Regions from separate parts of the Homo sapiens genome. Here all the other regions are linked to region 1. The links are contacts of gene promoters, found by promoter capture Hi-C in human tissues and cell types (Jung and others, 2019). All regions are on one chromosome and are shown on one strand. Each heading gives the region's core, a stretch centred on a gene start or on the middle of the fragment in contact. The rest is flanking DNA. Distances are from core to core; before and after follow the strand shown.

Region 1 (2,700 bases), core at 155-2,654:
AAACTCAGGGAGGGAAAAAGAGCAGGAGTGGTCCATCGCAGGGTCACCCCTGGTACTGCCCGTGGCAGGGCTCACAAACACCCCACAGCCTCTTTCCCCCAGGAAGCAGGTTAAGATGAAGAAAATTAGGCAGGCAGCTACCGGGCGGTGCCTGGCTCGCGGCTCATGGCTCACAGTGGAGGATGGACACTGCTGTTATTTCCCCTGCCCTGGTACCTGGGCCGTGCCAGACATATCAGCACTTGGCGGCAGTTTCACTTTGCTGCTGTCCTGAGCCGAGCTGTTAGCAGACTGAGCTTTACTGTCCTGTGCCGGCTGTTCAGAGACCACTGTGCCTGGCCGAAGACTGAGGCAGGGACTTCAGGCCAGGGGGCCAGGCTGGCTTTTCCTGCCTTTCACTTCAGGTGGGAGCGGCTGTGGATGAGGATGTCCAGCGGCCGTCGGTTTCTAGCCTTGGGATCATTCTGGCCCCGACACGGAGTGACAGGGGATCCCCACGCGTCCCCGCATCCAGGGCGCCCCTTTAGCTGCGGCGGAGGCACAGAGAGGCCTTGGCGGCGCTGTGGCTTCGGTCGGCACCGGGTCCCGCGCAGCCGGGCCCTCCACCCTGAGTGGAGCTGCCTTCTAAGCACCCAGCCCCTGCCAATCACTGTGCCCAACACCAAGTTCCCGGGGCGCCCTGCCCTGCGCCACCGCGCGCTCGCTCGCCCGCCCGCCCAACTCACCTGCTGAAGACCAGGCAGCCCAGGTGGTTGATCTTGTGGTCGGAGCGGTGGCGGCTGTAGTCCTCCCACAGGTCCCTGAAGGCCGTGATGGCCAGGATGAAGAGCACCGGCGCCAGTGCCAGGCCGGGCTGGAAGGCGTTCACCGCCGGCACGAAGTTGAGCAGCGCGATGAAGACAAAGTACACGTTGGCCGGGCGGTGGAACTGCTCGAACAGGTTCTTGGGCAGGAAGGACAGCAGCGTGTACTTGGTAGTCTTGAGCCGGTTGTCGGCCAGGTGCTGGGCACACCCGCGCCGCCGTCGCCGCTCGCCCTTGGCCGCGCCAGCCGCAGGGTCCTCGGCGCCCGGGGGCGGCAGCAGGTTGGAGCGCACCGTGCGCGTCCTGCCCTCTCGGCGCCTCCGCCGTCCCGGAGGCCCGGGCTCCTCGGTCCCCGCCGGCTCCCGCTCCATGGCCGCGTGTCGCCGCGCCCGGCTCCTCCGCCGCTCACGCCCGCCCGCGCCGGCCTCTTAGGTTATCATCACTCGCGGCCCGGGCGCGGCGGTGCGAGCTCCCCGCCTGCGGGACGCACGGAGACCGCGGTCAGCGCGCCGCCTGGCCGGCCCAGCGCGCCCAGCCCGCGCCCAGCCCCGTCCACTCCCGTCCAGCCCCGCCGCCCGGCCGCAGTCCCCAGGGCGCAAGCTGGGCGGGTGCCGCACAGAGCCCCCTTGTCCTCGCCGCCCGCCCCCGGCCCGGGTCGTTTCCGCCGCGGTGGCCACGGCCCCGCCCTCGTTCCGCGCCCGGACTGGGCCACGCCGGATAGCGGGAAACAAAAAAAGCCCGAGCTGGAAACTTCAGAGAGGTTTAGTTTCGTTTCCCAGAAGCATCAGTTCGGTCCCAAAACGCTGCAAACGCGCGCTGCCTGCAGTAGGAGAGAGGAAACCGCGAAGCGCGAGAAAAGGCGCCCCCGTCCCCAAGCAGCCCGCGCGCCCTTCCAGGGGCCAGACCTGCTCCATCCTGGACGGCGAAACGACCTCGGGAGACCCCGGTTAGGACCTTACTCCAGGGATCAACTGGAATCAAAATCCAAAGGATCCATGGCATCCAGTGCTCCAATTTTTAAGTCTTTTTTACGCAGGACCTCTGCTCCTGGGGAGCCCTGGGAAGGGCGATTCCGCGTTGCCTCTAAGAACTTCTTTCCTACCCCACTTCCCAGCCCCCACCACTTTCAGATTCCGTTGTTGGGCGAACTAGACCGTTTCCTTTCCACCATCATCATTACTGCCTTTCCTTCCTCTCCTAAATAAATTCTTTTTCTTTTTTCTGTTCTTTCTTCATGGAAAGGAGAAATATATCGCTATAGCAAAGACAGAATTTGGTTTGCAGGTATTTGAGTGTCTGTTTCCCTCCCTGGGAAATCATGAGGACCGAAACGCTCCTTGTGCGCTGTAGCTCTGAGGTGGCTGTCATGGCCCGGACGGCGGGGGAGGCGAGGATGGTTGTGGGGAGGCGAGGATGGTTGTGGGGAGGAGAGGGGAGCGTCAGGAGGGTGTCCCAGAAGTGTGGGGCGAAGGGCTCCCCTCCACATCATGGGGCATCCGAGAAGGGGTGGGAGAATAAGCACGGCATGGAAAAAGGAGCTGGGAGTCCCCCACGTCCGCAGTGAGACCCCACAGATGTTTCATGGCTGTGACTGTTTGCCTCCCACTCAAGAAGTACAGAGATGAGAAGCAGTTATTTCTTGCCCAGGAGGCCGTGGCTGGGCGGTTGGCCGTGGCCCCAGGCTCTTCCTGGGGGTGCCTGCTAACAAGGCACTGCCCTGGATGGACTCAAATCACGTCTTCGCCAGGACCCTGGCTTGGGGAGGCCCTCCCCTCCAGCACCCTGGCTTACCCGGCTCCAGTTATGACATTCTTACATCTCTGCCCAGTTTTGCCACCATCCACAATGTTGCCCAGAACCCAGTGTTAGAAGGTAGAGTGGTGACAGGTGTGAAGAA
Region 2 (2,700 bases), core at 135-2,634, 400 kb before region 1:
ATTTATAATAACTCTGAATTTTAAACCGACATTACCAACATAAAGAGTGAGGAGTTGGAGTTATTTGAAAGTGTACTAAGATTCTTTCTTCACTGGGAGTGAAAGAGACATAGATGTCAATATCCCCCCTCCCCCGCAAAAAAAAGGAAGACAAATTAAATGATGGAAAAAGTGGGAGAGAACTGAAATAGTAAACTAAGATTGTAAAAATGGGTTTTGAGATTCCCTAAAAGCACACTGTAAGATGAGAATACTTGTATAAATGTTTTACTAAAGAAATGCTCCCAGGGGAAACTGGTAATGGAGTGGGTGAAACAGAACATGGACAGGAACAAAGCGAAGCAAGGCACAACCTCATGAACATGCAGTGGTGGCTTCGGGTGACCTGGAAGAGCAACTCTGGAGTGTGTGTTTATGGCTTCTATGTTCTCACCCCCATCATTCACTGATGAATTCTTCCTGGGTACCTCCAGAGGGTCTGGGGGACTAGGAGACTGAGACAGTTACTTTAAACAGTGGCAAGTGATAGCTGTAGGAAATAAAAAACTCCCTGACAGTGGGGGCTAAGCAAAAATGGCTGAAAAGGATCCACAAGAATCTGGGCAGATCCATTATCCACTAACCAGATCCAAATACATCAGTACTGTCAATATATGTAAATGAAGGAAACCTACAGTCAAAAAAACATGAACATGCAAAAGTTGAAACTATAAGGATGAAAGTATAAGGATGTCAAACACCAACCTTTTCTCATTATGTAGTGATCCCTTCCAACCCTATTAGTGCTTATGGTCTTAAGTCCTATTCTTTTTCGTATTATTAGATAGAAAAGGTCATTCAACACACCAAGTTGATACCTCTGTTTTAAACATGTGTGTACTTAACAAAATAGCTTCAAAATATTTTAAACTGGTGATTCAATAATACAGAATAACAAGGTAAACGGTTAAGTTGAAAGAAAAATTTCCAAAGCGTAATACGTATGAAACTATAAAAGAACAGATTACAATGTGTTTATAGCTGGGACTTCTCCTGGTACTCAAAGTATTAAATTCTGTTGTAAAGAGGTGAAATGTCTAGCTCCCAAATGATTAGATGTTAAATTTATTTCTTCATAATATGAAATTATTTTCAGTGTTGAACAAGACCAGGGAAGCCGTTCATAATATACTGAAAGCTTTAAAAACAACTGATAAAAACCACAAAACTCATTTTGTATAAAACTTAAAAACTACAAGGCCTCATTTTTGTAAATATAGTTAGAATATGCATGTAAATTAAAAACAAAAAATATTGACTAAATTATAGAAAATAAAATAATACACAACTTTATAACTTTTGAAAATATATAAAAATTATAACAAATGTTTTAAAAATAGACTATCATTATTAAAGAGATTGAAGCAATGGTTAACAATATTCACACAAAAAAATTAGGGTCAAATGGTTTTATAGCTTAGTTTTACAGGTGGCAAAGACATTATAAAAAAATTATCAGCTCACTTTACTCACTGATATAGATGCAATAATCCTAAATAAATACAAGCAACTCAAATCTAACAAAGGATACAAAAGGTAATATGCTATGACTAATTTGAGTTTATTTCAGCTATGTAAGGATGATTTAATATTAAATCTGTAAATATAGTTTACTGCACTAACATGAAAGGGGGAAAAAGCTGGGCATGATAGCGTGTACTTGTGGTCCCAACTACTCAGGAGGCTGAGGCAGGAGGATCACTTGAGCCCAGGAGTTGGAGGCTGGAGTGAGCTATAATCACACCACTGCACTTCAGCCTGGGTGATAGAGCAAAACTCCGTCTCTTTTTTTTTTTTAATTTTTTTTAATTTTATTATTATTATACTTTAAGTTTTAGGGTACATGTGCACAATGTGCAGGTTAGTTACATAGGTATACATGTGCCATGCTGGTGTGCTGCACCCATTAACTCGTCATTTAGCATTAGGTATATCTCTTAATGCTATCTGCTATCCCTCCCCCCTCCTCCCACCCCACAACAGTCCCCAGAGTGTGATGTTCCCCTTCCTGTGTCCATGTGTTCTCATTGTTCAATTCCCACCTATGAGTGAGAATATGTGGTGTTTGGTTTTTTGTTCTTGCGATAGTTTACTGAGAATGATGATTTCCAATTTCATCCATGTCCCTACAAAGGACATGAACTCATCATTTTTTATGGCTGCATAGTATTCCATGGTGTATATGTGCCACATTTTCTTAATCCAGTCTATCATTGTTGGACATTTGGGTTGGTTCCAAGTCTTTGCTATTGTGAATAGAGCCGCAATAAACATACGTGTGCATGTGTCTTTATAGCAGCATGATTTATAGTCCTTTGGGTATATACCCAGTAATGGGATGGCTGGGTCAAATGGTATTTCTAGTTCTAGATCCCTGAGGAATCACCACACTGACTTCCACAATGGTTGAACTAGTTTACAGTCCCACCAACAGTGTAAAAGTGTTCCTATTTCTCCACATCCTCTCCAGCACCTGTTGTTTCCTGACTTTTTAATGACTGCCACTCTAACTGGTGTGAGATGGTATCTCATTGTGGTTTTGATTTGCATTTCTCTGATGGCCAGTGATGGTGAGCATTTTTTCATGTGTTTTTTGGCTGCATTAATGTCTTCTTTTGAGAAGTGTCTGTTCATGTCCTTCACCCACTTTTTGATGGGGTT
Region 3 (2,743 bases), core at 186-2,685, 310 kb after region 1:
CAACTACAATCAGGGGTGTTCAGCAATCCCATCTTGTGAGGAGGGAAATTCTATTTAGTTGGTGGATCTGAAGTCTGGTTGTTTTAATGCAAGTTCTTTTTATTCTGTGAGATGATACGTTATATATCCATTGTCACATGCTACTCTGCTAGAGTATTTAGAAATTGGAATTTTACAGCAATCTCTCTCTCGCTCTCTCTCTGGAGGAGAGTATTTGGAAACATTTGATTGAATTTCTTTTCTGGCTGACCCTATTATCTGGTAATTGCCACATTCAGCCTACTTTCTGTTTATTTTCTAACTTCCTACTACAATAAAAAGCATCACTGTTGTTATTTGTTCATGTAGTTACATTGTTATGATTATGATACTTAACATCACAGCAAAACATCTGCCTAACAGTACAATCCCCAGAAACTTCTTTAACACCTAACACTGGAAAGGACATGTCAGCCTCTTCTTTTTAAGGTCAGTGTGTTTTATCCTGTGACTTCAGGAATCCATGGCTCACTGGGGGAAGCCTGTTAAAATTTGGATTCTCAAGTCCAACATAGAGCGATCTGGTTCAGCAGGTCTGGGCTCGGGCTGCAAGGCCCACATTTTTCCAGTTTTGCATTTTGAGAGGGTCTACACCATTTTAGGTTCAGAGGGAACTTAGGACACAGAGACAAAACAACAAAGGCATCTGCACTGGTAATGAATTAGCAGGCGTCCATGCTGAGTTTGAGAAGCCAGAGAGAGGAGCACCAGGTGTTGGCCGGGAGGCTCTTGCCACACAAGGCTGAAGAGTGGATTTGGGGAAGTGTCATGTGCGCCTGGACTATGGCTAGGGAAGGGCTTTTCAGAGGATGCCGTTTGAACTGGGGCAGAGCTCAGTGGCCACAGGCAGTTGCTGAGGCAGAGTGGAGACTGTCCCTGAACCAGGAGAGGAACATGTGTTGAGCTCATGTGGACTGAGTGCTTTTACCAACAATATTTCATTTAATCCTTAGTGCAATTTGCTAAACTAGGTGGATATAATTCTTCCTATTCATAGATACAAGTATTTAGAATCAGAGGCATTCAATAACATTTTCAGGATTATGCCAAATGGGTTTTCCACTCATTAACACCTTCCACCATACCATGTTAGTCCAGTTTTGAGCCCATGGGAACCTGTAAAGCTAGGATGTGTGCTGGGGAGGCACTGGGCACAGTGGTTAGAACCTGGACAGACCTGAGCCTTTTGGCTTCCTCATTTGAAAACCAGGATGTACAATGCCTCCTTCACATGGTCATTGTGAAGATACAATAAGACAATGTCTATGAAGCCTTGTATTGTTCTCGGCATATTTTAAATGTTCAATGAATAAGAATTACTGTTCTTATATAGACAGAGACTCTGGTGATGATGGCAGGAGGTGTGGAGAATACAGCAAAAGGTTGGTTCTTTCTTCATCATTTCCAAACTGAGATTTTTGCCATCAACTCTGGAATTGAAAAGTGAAAACAGGAGCCCACGGACAGTCTCCTCTCCAGCAAGCCTTTGGACACAGCATTTAGTATTAAGAAAAATGAGTCTATCTGCCTGGTGCTTCCATCATGTGTCCCACCTGTGGAGTGCAGAGGCACCTGTAAGCTACTCTTGTCACCTATGCTTCCTGGAAACATGTAGGAAAGTGCTTCTTGTGCAGCAGGTCTTAAGGAGGTGCCATCTGAGCTGGCTAACAGGAGGCCTCTCCATCGCTCTCTCCTCTCACGTCTTCCTCTCCTCTTGTTTCCTGTCGTTTACTGTATTCCCCTTAAGGAAACCAATTTTTCACTTTTTTTCAGCTCTCTGCTGTTTACTGAAACTAACTTTTGCTTCCACTTTTATGCCTCATTTAAAAATTTAAATTTTCCCCTTTTAAAGCTTGCATGTAAATTGGTAAAAAAAAAAAAAAAAAAAAAAAATGCCCCCAAACTCTGCCACTGCCAGACAGATAAATCTGATTATATAACAATGTTAGAATTATGTCTGACTTCATAAGTCTGTGTGTAGGAAATAAATGGGGACCGGAGGGAGAAACTATTTCTAACTGTAGTCGCTTCATCCAAGAAAATTAATAAAAATGGTTATTAATTTGGAAACTTGGACCCTGAAGAAAAGATGGTAGTGATGTCTTATTAGAGAAAATGATTTGCTATTGCCATTATTCATGGGCAGCTAAAGCATGAATTTGGCATGCCTTTGTAAGCCTGCATCAATAAAATCAACAGCACTTCACATAGCATAAGTTTAGTTTTGTATTCATTCCACCTAATAATACTTTATCCCTTCTATTTTTATTGGTTCATTTGAGTCTCCCCATGCTTTGCTCTCATTAAAGTACATTAGTGACTATGGCGATGAGAGTGTAAGGGATGTGGAAGGAACACAGGATATAAATGAGACCATTTACACGCCAGGTGAGCTCTAGAGCACAGGACATGAAATAATGAAACCAGTGATTTCTACAGATTCCTCTGGAAATGATGGGGCCATTTCATTTCATTATCCGATACATAAATTTAAATGAGATCATTGTTATTATTCAGCACTCTCATTGCATGAAGGGCTATCTCTGAATGTTTTACATTTTATTGTGAAACCTTAGTCGGATGCTGCATCTTCATTGTAACCCACCATTATCTTTCTGATGATGCTCTGAGAGATTATCCTTATGGCTGAGATTTATGTGGTTCACTCAAGCAAATGCTAAATACTTGCAAGTCAAAGATTTTC
Region 4 (2,700 bases), core at 5-2,504, 380 kb after region 1:
TAACTCCTCATTTCCTCCCTCCCCACATCCCCTATCAAAGTGCATTCTACTTTTTGTCTCTATGATTTTGCTTAGGTACCTCATATAAGTGGAATCATATAATGTTTGTCTTTTTGTGACTAGCTTATTTCACTTTGCAAAATGTCTTCAAGCTTCATCCATGCTGTAGTGTATACCAGAAATTCTTTACATATTAAGGCTGAATAATATTTCATTATACATATATACCACATTGCCTATCCATTCATCTGTCATAATCACTTGGGTTGCTTCCGTGTTATGGCTACTATGAATAATACTTCTATGAATATTGGTATACAAATGTCTTTAAGATTCTGCTTTCAATTCTTTTGTGTATATATATGATAGTGGAATTACTGGATCATATAGTAGTTCTTCAAATTTTTGATGCACTGACATACTGTTTTCCATGGTGGCTGTATCATTTTACATTCCCACCAACAGTGCACAAAGGTTGCAATTTCTCCACATCTTCATCATCATTTATTTTCTGTTTCTTGATAGGAGCCATCCCAAGTGGTGTGTGGTGGTATCTAGTTGTAGTTTTGATTTGCATATCTTTAATTATTAGTGATGTTGAACATCTTCTCATGTGTTTATTGGCCATTTGTATCTCTTCTTGGGAGAAATGTCTATTCAAGTCCTTTGTCAATTTTTTTTTTTTTTTTTTTTGAGACGGAGTCTCGCTCTGTTGCCCAGGCTGGAGTACAGTGGTACGATCTCAGCTCACTGTAAGCTCCACCTCCCGGGTTCACGCAATTCTCCTGCCTCAGCCTCCCGAGTAGCTGGGACTACAGGCACCCGCCACCACGCCTGGCTAATTTTTTTGTATTTTTAATAGAGACAGGGTTTCACCGTGTTAGCCAGGATGGTCTCGATCTCCTGACCTCGTGATCCACCCGCCTCACCCTTCCAAAGCGCTGGGATTACAGGCGTGAGCCACCACACCCAGCCTCCTTTGTTAATTTTTAAATTGAGTTGGTTGGTTGGTTGGTTTTTTGTGGTTGAATTTTAGGAGTTCTGTATACATTCTGGATATTGATTTCTTACTAGATATATGCTTTGCAAATATCTTCCCCCATTCTGTGGGTTGCCTGATTATTCTCTTGATGTTATACGTTAATGCACAAGTTAAAAAAAATTCATGAAGTCTCATTTGTTTATTTTTTCTTTGGTTGTCTGTTCTTTATCTTGATGTCTTATCCAAGAAATCACTGCCATCTTCAATGTAGTGGTTTTCACCCTATGTTTTCTTCTAAGTTTTTACTTTTAGTTTTCATATTTAGATCTTTGATCCATTTTAAGTTTATTTTTGTACATAGTGTTAGGTAGGGGTCCACCTTCATTCCTTTACAGGTGAACATCCAGTATTCCCAGTATCATTTGTTGCAAAGACTGCGCTTTCTCCATTGAATAGTCTACGCACTTGTCAAATATCATTTGATCATACATGTGAGGGTTTACTTCTGGGCTTTGTGTTCTATTCCATTAACCTATATGTCTATTTTTATCCCAGTTCCACACCATTTTAAGTAGCTTTGTAGTAAGTTTTGAAATCAGAAAGTGTGAGTCCTCCAGCTTTGTTCTTTTTCAAAATTGTTTTGGCTATTTTGGGTCCTTTGAAATTCCATATGAATTTTAAGATGGTTTTTAAAATTTTTCTGTAAAAAATGTCTTTGGCATTTTAATAGAAATTGTATTTCATCTGTAGATCATTTTGGGTAGTATTGACATCTTAACAATATTGTTTTCCCATCCATGACCATGGAATATGTTTCTATTTATCTATGTCTTCCTTAACTTTTTTCCATAATGTTCCATAGTTTTCGCTGAACAAATCTTTGATTTCCTTGGTTAATTTAATTCCTGAGTGTATATTTTCTTTTTAATGCTGTTATAAATGGAAATGTTTCCATAATATTCTTTTTGGGTTGTTTATTATAGATATATATAAATGCAACTGATTTTTGTATTTTGACTTTCTATTCTGATAATTTGCCAAATTCATTCATTAGTTCCAGCAGTTTTTTTTTTTCAATCCTTAGGATTTTCTGCATGTAAGAATATATCGTCTGTGAACAAAGACACTTTAACTTATTTTTTTCTAATCTGGATTTTATTTATTTATTCCACCTAATTGCTCTAGCTAGAACTTCTAGTACTATGTTAAATAGAAATCATGAAGGCAGACATGATTATCTTATTCTCAATCTTAGAGGAAAAGTTTCAGTCTTTCACTATTGAGTATGATGTTCACTATGGGTTTTTCACATGTGGCTTTTATTATGTTGAGGTAGTTTTGTTCTACTTCTAGTTTGCTGAATGTTTTTCTCATAAAATGATGTTGAATTTTGTCAAACGGTTTTTCCGCATTGATTGAGATAATGATTTTTTTTCTTCTTTCTTTTAATGTGTTGTATTTTCTTTCTTGTTCAATTTTGGTATGTTGAATTATCTTTGGATTCCAGTAATAAATCCCACTTGATAATGGTAAATTGACTTTTTAATGTGCTGTTGAATTTGGTTTGCTCATATTTTGTCATGGGTTTTCTGCATAAGGGATATTGGTCTGTGGTTTTCTTTTGCAGTGTCTTTGTCTGGCTTTGTTATCACGGTAACCTGGCCTGATAGAATAAGTTAGGAAGTATTCCCTCTTTTTCATCTGTTTAGAAAAATTTG
Region 5 (2,700 bases), core at 59-2,558, 360 kb before region 1:
ACCCATATACAACACCAAGAGTGAATCTTAATGTAAACTGTGGATTTTGAGTGATGATGTGTCAATACCATTTCAACAGTAGTAACAAATGTACCATCCTGGTGGGGAATGTTGGTAGTGGGGGAGTCTGTGCATGTGTGGGGTCAGAGGGTATATAGGAACTGTCTGTACTTTCTGCTTCACTTTACTGTGAACCTAAAACTGTTCCAAAAATAAAGCTTATTCATATGAAAAACCGTAAACGAAAACGAAATACACACACACACACAGGATGAACACACCCACTTGTGCGATGTCCTCTTAGTTTCTTTAGTATGCCCTCTATAGAGATTACCTGGCATGCTTTCAGTCTACCACTCACAGCCTTTACAGCCTGGAGATTATGGTAGTAAGAGGCTAACAACTATATAGCCATACCACCCTCCCATCAATTATTTAGTCAACAGGTATCTGTTGAGCATCTAATATGTGCCAGCGGTGCCTAGAGGCTGTGGGGTGGAAAATGAGTCAGCACTCTTTACAGCCCCTTGCCCACAAAGATGCGATCATCTGTGATATCATTTGGATGTTTTTTCCAATCTCATGTTGAAATGTGATTCCCAGTGTAGTAGGTGGGGCCAGGTGGGAAGTGATTGGATCATGGCGGCAAATCCCTCATGAATGGTTTAATACCATCCTCCTGGTGATAAGTGAGTTCTTGCTCAGTTAGTTCATGCACGATCTGGTTGTTTAAAAGAGTCTGGGGAGACCTACCCCTTCTCTCTCTCTTGCTCCCACTCTTGCCATGTGATGCGACTGCTCCCTTTTCCCTTCTGCCACAAATAGAAGCTTCCTGAGGTCCTCACCAGAATCAGATGCTGGCATCACTCTTCCTGCACAACCTACAGAACTGTGAGCCAGTTAAACCTCTTCTCTTTATAAATTACCCAGCCATTAAGCATTCCTCTATAGTAACACAAACAGACTAACACAGTCCACTTGGGAAATAGAATGTCACCATGCAGCTAGTAGTGAATATGATGATATTACATATTGCTACAGTTGACTGGGGACCAGGATAATGGTGAGCTACTAATTATTTGGCACAGGTGATAAGAGTATAAAGATTCGGTGCAGAAAGATTCATTTGAGCTGGAAAACCCTGAGAAAATTGGCAAGAGCAGGGGCAGCTTCACGTAGCTTCACAGCTGATCAGCTCTGTTGAGACCATCTTGAAATTCTTACTAATTTTTGAACAAAAATCCTCATATTTTTATTTTGCACTGGACTCCCCAAATTAAGACCCCTCCTTTCCAGGAAGGAAATGTTTGTATGGGTCATGTCTGATTTAGAAATCATAATTGATACCACTTATTGTGCATTTTTAAGTACCAGGAAGGATCTTAGGTGCTGAGACCTTATCTCCTCTAACCCACACAAAGGAGAGGAAAACCAAGTTTCAGATAGGTCACCTGATCTCACCCAGTTTGTGGGGCAGGCAAGATTCAAACCCAAGCTCTTTTCTTTTATTTCTGATTCATTCTTTCCAGATTTTTATATCAGTTATTTAAATTCATGGTTCATACTTTGAAATGATTTTTAATTAATTAATTAATTTTTTTTGAGGCAGAGTCTCACTCTGTGGCCCAGGCTAGAGTACAGTGGTGCAATCTCATGGCTCATTGCAGCCTCAACATCTTTGGCTCAAGCAATCTTCCTGCCTCAGCTCCCCAAGTAGCTAGGACTACGGGTGTGCACCACCACACCCAGCTAATTTTTACTTTTTTTGTGTGGAGAATGTGGCCTCACTATGTTTCTCAGGCTGGTCTCGAACTCCTGGCCTCAAGCAATCCTCTGACCTCAGCTTCCCAAAGTGCTGGGATTACAGTTGTGAGCTATCATGCCCAGCCTTGAAATGACTAAGATGTTTGAGAGGAATAAACCAGCTCACCTCTGTGAATAGTTTAGTTCAGCAGTTCCTAAACATTTTCAGTTCACAGCACCCTTAATGTCTTAGTAATCTTATTCACAGGGCCCTGAGGCCACATGAAATACCTAACAGTTCTATTTATGACCTTGTTGGGTCCAACTACCTTAATAAGTATTTATGTCCTAACAACTTAGGAGCTGGGTAAAAAATAATATGTACAAATTGGAAGAAAATAAATCATATTTTATTGTAATATTAAATAACCACAATTATTTACTAATGATATGTAGGTGCATCAGTTGGGCACTAGCAATATGTAAAACCTTGGAATTAGATAGGACATATCACTTTTTCCCCCACAACTATCACAACAGTCACCAAAAACCAAGCTTTGCAAAGATATGACATCATGGAAGGAAATTTAGCAACCTAATGTTAAAACCAATTTACCTGGAGCTAGCAGTTCCTGAGATGTCCGACAGGCATCCTTGTGTTCTCCTCAAGTATTTAAAAATACCCAGGCACTTCTGCGAGTCCCTTGAGGTGCCTGCCCCTCTGCCTGTTTATGCAAAGCAATGTCCGCTTGCTGGTGGACAGGTCCAGGCAGTGCTTTTTCCTCTGCGCGATATTAGATATGCAGAAAATCATGGATAGGAAGTGCCAAGGAAAAAACGGGGGATAAAAATAGAATGAACCAAAAAAGGAGCTCAAGAAATGTATTTTTAATGCAGTGCCACAAAAATAAGCTCATATTTTACTATGTATTTGACATCAGAATACAATTACAACTG
Region 6 (2,700 bases), core at 142-2,641, 410 kb after region 1:
AGCATAGTTTTAACATGCCTTTCTTTTTACTATGAGTACAAGTAAATTACCATAAGTATTTTTGTGTGATTACATGTTTTGTGTCTGTTTCTGTGCTTTGCGCACAGATTGTGTTATTAATTTTTTGGTCTTAATACCAAAAGTTTAAGAGTTCTTTATACTTTAAGAAAAATAATCCTTTTGTCTATGGTATGAATTGTAAATATTTTCTCTAATCTTATTTGTCTTTTGACTTTGCTTATGTTTCTTTTTTTGCAACATTTTAAAATATAGTGAAATTACCAATCTTTGAGTTATATTTAAAAGGCTTTTCCGTTCCCAAATTACTGAGACACGCATCCGTATTTTCTTCTAGTACTAGAATGATTTCATTCTGCACTTGTATTTCTAATCCATTTGGATGTTATGTTGGTGCACTATGTTCAATAGAGATGCACAGGTTTTGTTTTCCACAGGGCTATCCATTTTTTTCCAACACCCTTTATTAACTATTTATTCTTCTCTGTGATTTGAGATGATTTGAGATGCCGAAAGGCGATCCTCACTTTCTGGTATTCACAAATTCATATATCCCTCCCTGGAGTGTGGACAGGACTTTGCTTCTAAGCAATAGAACACGGCAAGAGTGATAGGATGTCATTCATGTGATTGCATTACATGACATTATATGGCAGCGGTGGTGGGGTGCCATTCTCGTGCTTCTGTTACATTGTACGAGTCCATATGGCTGGCAGTATCTCATGCTCTAATCAGTCTCTCCATTGCTGGCTTTGAAGAAACAAGCTGCCATGTTTGAGAGGCCCACATGAGAAGGAACTGCAGGTGGTATCCGAGAGCTGAGGGCAGCCTTCAGGTAGGAACTGAAACCTGCAGTCCTGCAGACCCAAGGAAATGAATTTGGTCAACAACCTGAAGGAGCCAGGAGTTAGTTGGTTTTTCCCCAGTTAACTCCCTGAGAAGGCCACGGCCCGGATGACACATGGCTTCTATCCTACTGAGACGAGGCAGAGAGCCCAGCTAAATCATGCCTTAGGCTTCTGAACCACAGGGCTGCAGGTTTGAGTGTTGTTTTAATCTGCTAAGTTTGTCACAATTTGTTATACAGAATAGATAAATAATACACATATTTAGTCAGCCCCAAATTCCAAATGTGCTATGGATTATTTCTGGACTTTATTTCTACTGGCCTGTGTGTCTTTTAATGCATTATTAATATGATTTAATTATAGCACTTTATAATATGTCTTAATATCTGGTAGAACTAACCTTATTCATCATTATTCCTTTTCACAGTTGTCCTTGCTATTCTTGATTGCTTAATTTTCTACATAAAAGTTAAAATCAATTAGTCTGGGCCAGAGGAAAAAATGTTATTTTTATTGGAATCACATTAAAGTTTTATATTAACTTAAGGGAGAGTTGACAAGCGTATGCTCCTGAATCATTTGCTCCAGAATATATGACGTCTTGCCATGTGTTCCACTTTGTGTTTCAGGATTGCATAGGGATTCTGCCCAATTTTGGATGACCTATTAAGCTTTTTTAAAAAAGTAGGGCTAAGTGTCAAATTGTTTCTAATACCATTTTACTATCTATAGAAGTATCTGAATATGATCTATTACCATGGTAAAATACTAAGCATTTTTTAAAATTGTGACTGAGTAGCAAATATTTTAGAATAACATTTTAATATCTATGGCAGTATCTGATTATGAGTTCTATTCTTAGATCTATTAATATGGTGAAATGCATTAATACATTTTCTCATATTGAACCATCCTAAAATTCTGGAATTCTATATATTTCTAGAATTCCTTCTTCATAATGCATACTTTTAAAAATGTGCTGTGGGATTTTTCTTGTTAATATTTTATATAAAATGTTTACATTTGCATTATAAGTGAGATTAGACTGTATTTTTCTTGTGGTTCAATATTTGACAGGATTGGAATTCATGTTATAGATCAATGTAGTTTTCCTTTTCTGTGATCACAAATAATTAAAACACCTTAAGATCTTATTGTTAAAGATTCGATAGAATTCCTTTGATTCATCATCCTGACTTGGAACCTTTCTTTTCTTTTCTTTTCCTTTTGTTTTCCTTTTCCTTTTCCTTTTCTTTCCCAGTGCAGGGGAGCATGCAGCTTTTTGGATGCTTACTCTGTTTCCTCAATGAAAATTAGCCTATTAAACTTCCTATCTGGGCTGGGTGCAGTGGCCCACACCTGTAATCCCAGTACATTGGGAGGCCGAGGCGGGCAGATCGCCTGAGGTCAGGAGTTCGAGACCAGCCTGGCCAACATGATGAAACCCCATCTCTACTAAATATACAAAAGTTAGCCGGATGTGGTGGCGCATGCTGTAATCCCAGCTACTTGGGAGGCTGAGGCAGGAAAATTGCTTGAACCCAGGAGGCAGAGGTTGCAGTAAGCTGAGATTGCACCATTGCGCTCCAGCCTGGGCAACAAGAGCGAAACTCTGTCTCACAAAAAAAAAAAAAACACAAAACAAAAAAACCCAGCTTTCTAATTGGGTTTAGTTTTGATAAATTATAATTTATGTTGGGACATTTATAACTTTCCAGGCACCGCCTTTTGACTCAGCAGGACTTTAAAAAAATAGCAAAATCTCTATCTTGGTAAATTCAGTCCATCAAAATTGTGTTGTCAATTTATTGAAATTTCAATTATTGTCAAAGTT
Region 7 (2,700 bases), core at 29-2,528, 290 kb before region 1:
TGTGTAGAAGCAGGTTAATTTTTAAAGACCTTTATTTTCCTGGCTTCATTTTATTTTTAAGAAGAGAATTAGGAATCTTTTCTAGTTAAAAAACATCTGCCCTTGCCATTCTGTATACTTATGGCCAGATCCCGGATGCTGCTTTATCAGTTTGTGTTCTCTGCCTCGTTGTTTTAGGCTTGCATTTTCCTTATTTCACTAAGGGTCAAGACTATCGCAATAAGGGAGAGAGACAGAACTCAACTCCAAGTACAGCAATGACATCTGGGGATTTGTAGCCAACGGGCAAGGAGACAGGATCAATGGATGAAAAATTACTAAGAGGAATTTGATGAGTTGTCAAAGGTGGGGATTGAAACTGGGCTTAGCAGGCCAAGGACAAGGCTTAGTTAAGAAGAGGGTTCCAGGAGCCTGGCTAGGAGGGAGTCCTTATCAAAATTCAGTGACAAAAGAAGCTTGGTATGCTAGAGAACAGTTCATGTGGCATTTAACTCAGGAACTCTGACATGAACTAGACTATTGTGATCAGGGGAGGAGGCATAAGAAAGGGGCTGCACAGATGTCCTTGAAATGTAGGGTCAGGGGAGTCAGGAAGGCCAGAGAGAGACATCACCTGCTGGAGCCCTTGACCGTCCCTGCAGGGGCGAGAACTGTAGCCTGAAGAGGCAAAAGACAGATGGGTGGACTGTGTTTTAACATGGAAATGGCTCCTTTTGATCTGGCTGGGCTACCAACGTGTAACAATGGAAAGGAACAACAAGGCATCAGGCATGAATGTGATTGGTGAGCCCAAGGCCGACCCACAGAAGCCCTGTGGGCAGTGCCCTGTGTGTTTTTGAGAGCTGTGTCAGCTCCGTGGAGGAAGCAGGAGCTTGCAGGCTCATCCCCAATCTGTGTCTTGGAGGATGAGGGCATCCAACCTGCCTCCTGCATGGGCGAGTGCCAGGGCATAGCCTGCTTGAGGGCAGGTGAGGTCGTCGGGATGAGAGAGTCATTTTTATGGCCCTAAATTCCACGACTAAATGTATTCTCATTATACATTTATGCTTTTTAGAGAGCACGTCACAGAATTGAGCTCATTTTAAGCAAGGTTTCCACATGTTTACATATATTTCTGAAGCTAGATGGAAAGAAAAGACATATGGGGGAATTCCAAAAGTGGCTTCTGCATGCTGCCCATTGAACGTTTGCTCAGGAACACTGCACTGATAGTATCGTGGGTGGAGCCAACAGTTATCCCAGGAGAAGGCAGAGCCTGGCGACCCTGACCCTGGGACCCTGGCACAGGCCTGAACACTGGCACCCATGTATGGAAGGTGGAAAATGCTTCCAGGTGCCTTTTGAGTTCCAGATGCCATTGAAGACAGCAGAGAGGCTCAACCCAGCCAGTAGACCTTCTACCTTCATTGCAAGGATGCTTTTTAAATCTTTACTTAGAAAGTTCAGTTCCTTGGCTCGCACAAAGGACAATGTGAAGAACAATTGAACTGCTGAGAACATCCAGATTCGACAACATTCGGAGAGACAGTCAGTGACTGATGAGAGGAACCAGCTTATATTTCTGAAGCTTGGAGGCCTGCTGCCAGGACTCTTATTTAAAACATGCCTCAGAATAGGCCACTGTGGGCGCCAGCAAGACTAGCCTCAGAATACTTTGGAATAACCCCATGCTTTCGTGGCCAAAGCTGTATATTTTTGGATGCCAGGTTTCTATTTGAAACTTGTCACTGTGACCTGCAGACTGTGCTGGTTTGTAGCTGCTGCCAATCGCACAGTCGGTGAGTTTTTCTCCCTGAGTGAGGATCCAGAAATGCATGCCCAGCTGAGCTCCCAGCATATTGATAATCTCCTCACCCCTTGAATGAAAATGATAACAATTGCTTCAGTTAAAATGTCAGATGCTTTTGGTTAAAAATAACCACAGAAATCCTAATTTTAGCTACCTCAACCACAAAGGGGAGTGTTGGCCTGAATCACAGTCTGGAAGGAAGATCCAGTGATAGGTGTTGGGGCACAGGAAATGATTCCCCAAAATATGGCGCTTTGGCATGCGGAGTGCTTTGACAATTGAAAGGCCTCCAAAATAAGCCTTAGGGTCAAGGTTTCTCTCTGACTTTTTCCCCACCTCTTTGTCTCCCTGATACTCTTTCCTGAAGCACCAAGAGGGACTCTTCTCTAGAATTTCCTTATCTAAGAAAGCTTAAATGCAATTGTCTTAAGACTCCCTCCTTAGGAATCTCATTAAAGAAGCAGGACGATCAAGCACAGAAGAGAAAAGACTCAGAGTCCTCACTGTGCCCAGACGGACTTTTCATCTATTCTTCTAAGAGCAGCTCCAAGAGATTACCTGGGGGGCTTTACCTGCAGAATAAGACAACCTTTGTTCCTGTGCAGCTCTGACCCCACTTTCCCAGAGCATCTGCCTCCTGCCTTTGGGGTCCATTCATCTTCCCTAATGATTTCCTGCCCATCAAAAGATCATCTACATTTCCCATCACCTCCACCCCTAGGAAAGGGTAAATGAGCTTCTGTAGGGCACCGAGTAAGTGGGTGATCACTCTGTGATTGTCCCCTGTGCACATTAATACATTTGTTTGTCTTTTTTCTCTGTTAATCTGCCTTTCGTCAGTTGATTTTCAGCAAGCCTTCAGAGGGCCAAAGGGAAGTTTCTCCTTCACTCCTACATAGGCATTCCTAGCA

Evidence for each region. Contacts are between HindIII fragments. The study calls those that stand out against the background at their distance.
Region 2: a fragment that was not itself captured here is called in contact with the fragment with the promoter of ATP10A in region 1 in 1 of the 25 tissues and cell types used here (IMR-90 fibroblasts).
Region 3: a contact is called between a fragment that was not itself captured here and the fragment with the promoter of ATP10A in region 1, in 1 of the 25 tissues and cell types used here (H1 embryonic stem cells).
Region 4: a contact is called between a fragment that was not itself captured here and the fragment with the promoter of ATP10A in region 1, in 1 of the 25 tissues and cell types used here (H1 embryonic stem cells).
Region 5: a contact is called between a fragment that was not itself captured here and the fragment with the promoter of ATP10A in region 1, in 3 of the 25 tissues and cell types used here (aorta, dorsolateral prefrontal cortex and mesendoderm cells).
Region 6: a contact is called between a fragment that was not itself captured here and the fragment with the promoter of ATP10A in region 1, in 1 of the 25 tissues and cell types used here (thymus).
Region 7: a fragment that was not itself captured here is called in contact with the fragment with the promoter of ATP10A in region 1 in 2 of the 25 tissues and cell types used here (IMR-90 fibroblasts and dorsolateral prefrontal cortex).

The regions. Positions count from the first base shown.
Region 1 is chr15:25,861,923-25,864,622 of GRCh38, forward strand. It overlaps ATP10A (ATPase phospholipid transporting 10A (putative)), which reads right to left and starts at 1,405. Exons shown (of 21, transcript NM_024490.4): 1 at 726-1,405. The coding sequence starts at 1,174. The HindIII fragment of the contact is 9,757 bases long and covers 1-2,700 here.
Region 2 is chr15:25,457,436-25,460,135 of GRCh38, forward strand. The region is part of intron 4 of LINC02250 (long intergenic non-protein coding RNA 2250); the gene reads right to left. Among named protein-coding and RNA genes, the nearest start is that of UBE3A, 20 kb to the left of the region's middle. The HindIII fragment of the contact is 5,774 bases long and covers 1-2,700 here.
Region 3 is chr15:26,168,310-26,171,052 of GRCh38, forward strand. No RefSeq gene overlaps it. Among named protein-coding and RNA genes, the nearest start is that of LINC00929, 54 kb to the left of the region's middle. The HindIII fragment of the contact is 3,110 bases long and covers 1-2,743 here.
Region 4 is chr15:26,246,481-26,249,180 of GRCh38, forward strand. No RefSeq gene overlaps it. Among named protein-coding and RNA genes, the nearest start is that of LINC00929, 130 kb to the left of the region's middle. The HindIII fragment of the contact is 8,843 bases long and covers 1-2,700 here.
Region 5 is chr15:25,498,726-25,501,425 of GRCh38, forward strand. It overlaps LINC02250 (long intergenic non-protein coding RNA 2250), which reads right to left. Exons shown (of 5, transcript NR_187215.1): 4 at 2,360-2,527. Among named protein-coding and RNA genes, the nearest start is that of UBE3A, 61 kb to the left of the region's middle. The HindIII fragment of the contact is 4,387 bases long and covers 1-2,700 here.
Region 6 is chr15:26,268,880-26,271,579 of GRCh38, forward strand. No RefSeq gene overlaps it. Among named protein-coding and RNA genes, the nearest start is that of LINC02248, 120 kb to the right of the region's middle. The HindIII fragment of the contact is 6,664 bases long and covers 1-2,700 here.
Region 7 is chr15:25,567,309-25,570,008 of GRCh38, forward strand. All of the region lies in intron 1 of LINC02250 (long intergenic non-protein coding RNA 2250), which reads right to left. Among named protein-coding and RNA genes, the nearest start is that of LINC02250, 10 kb to the right of the region's middle. The HindIII fragment of the contact is 3,421 bases long and covers 1-2,700 here.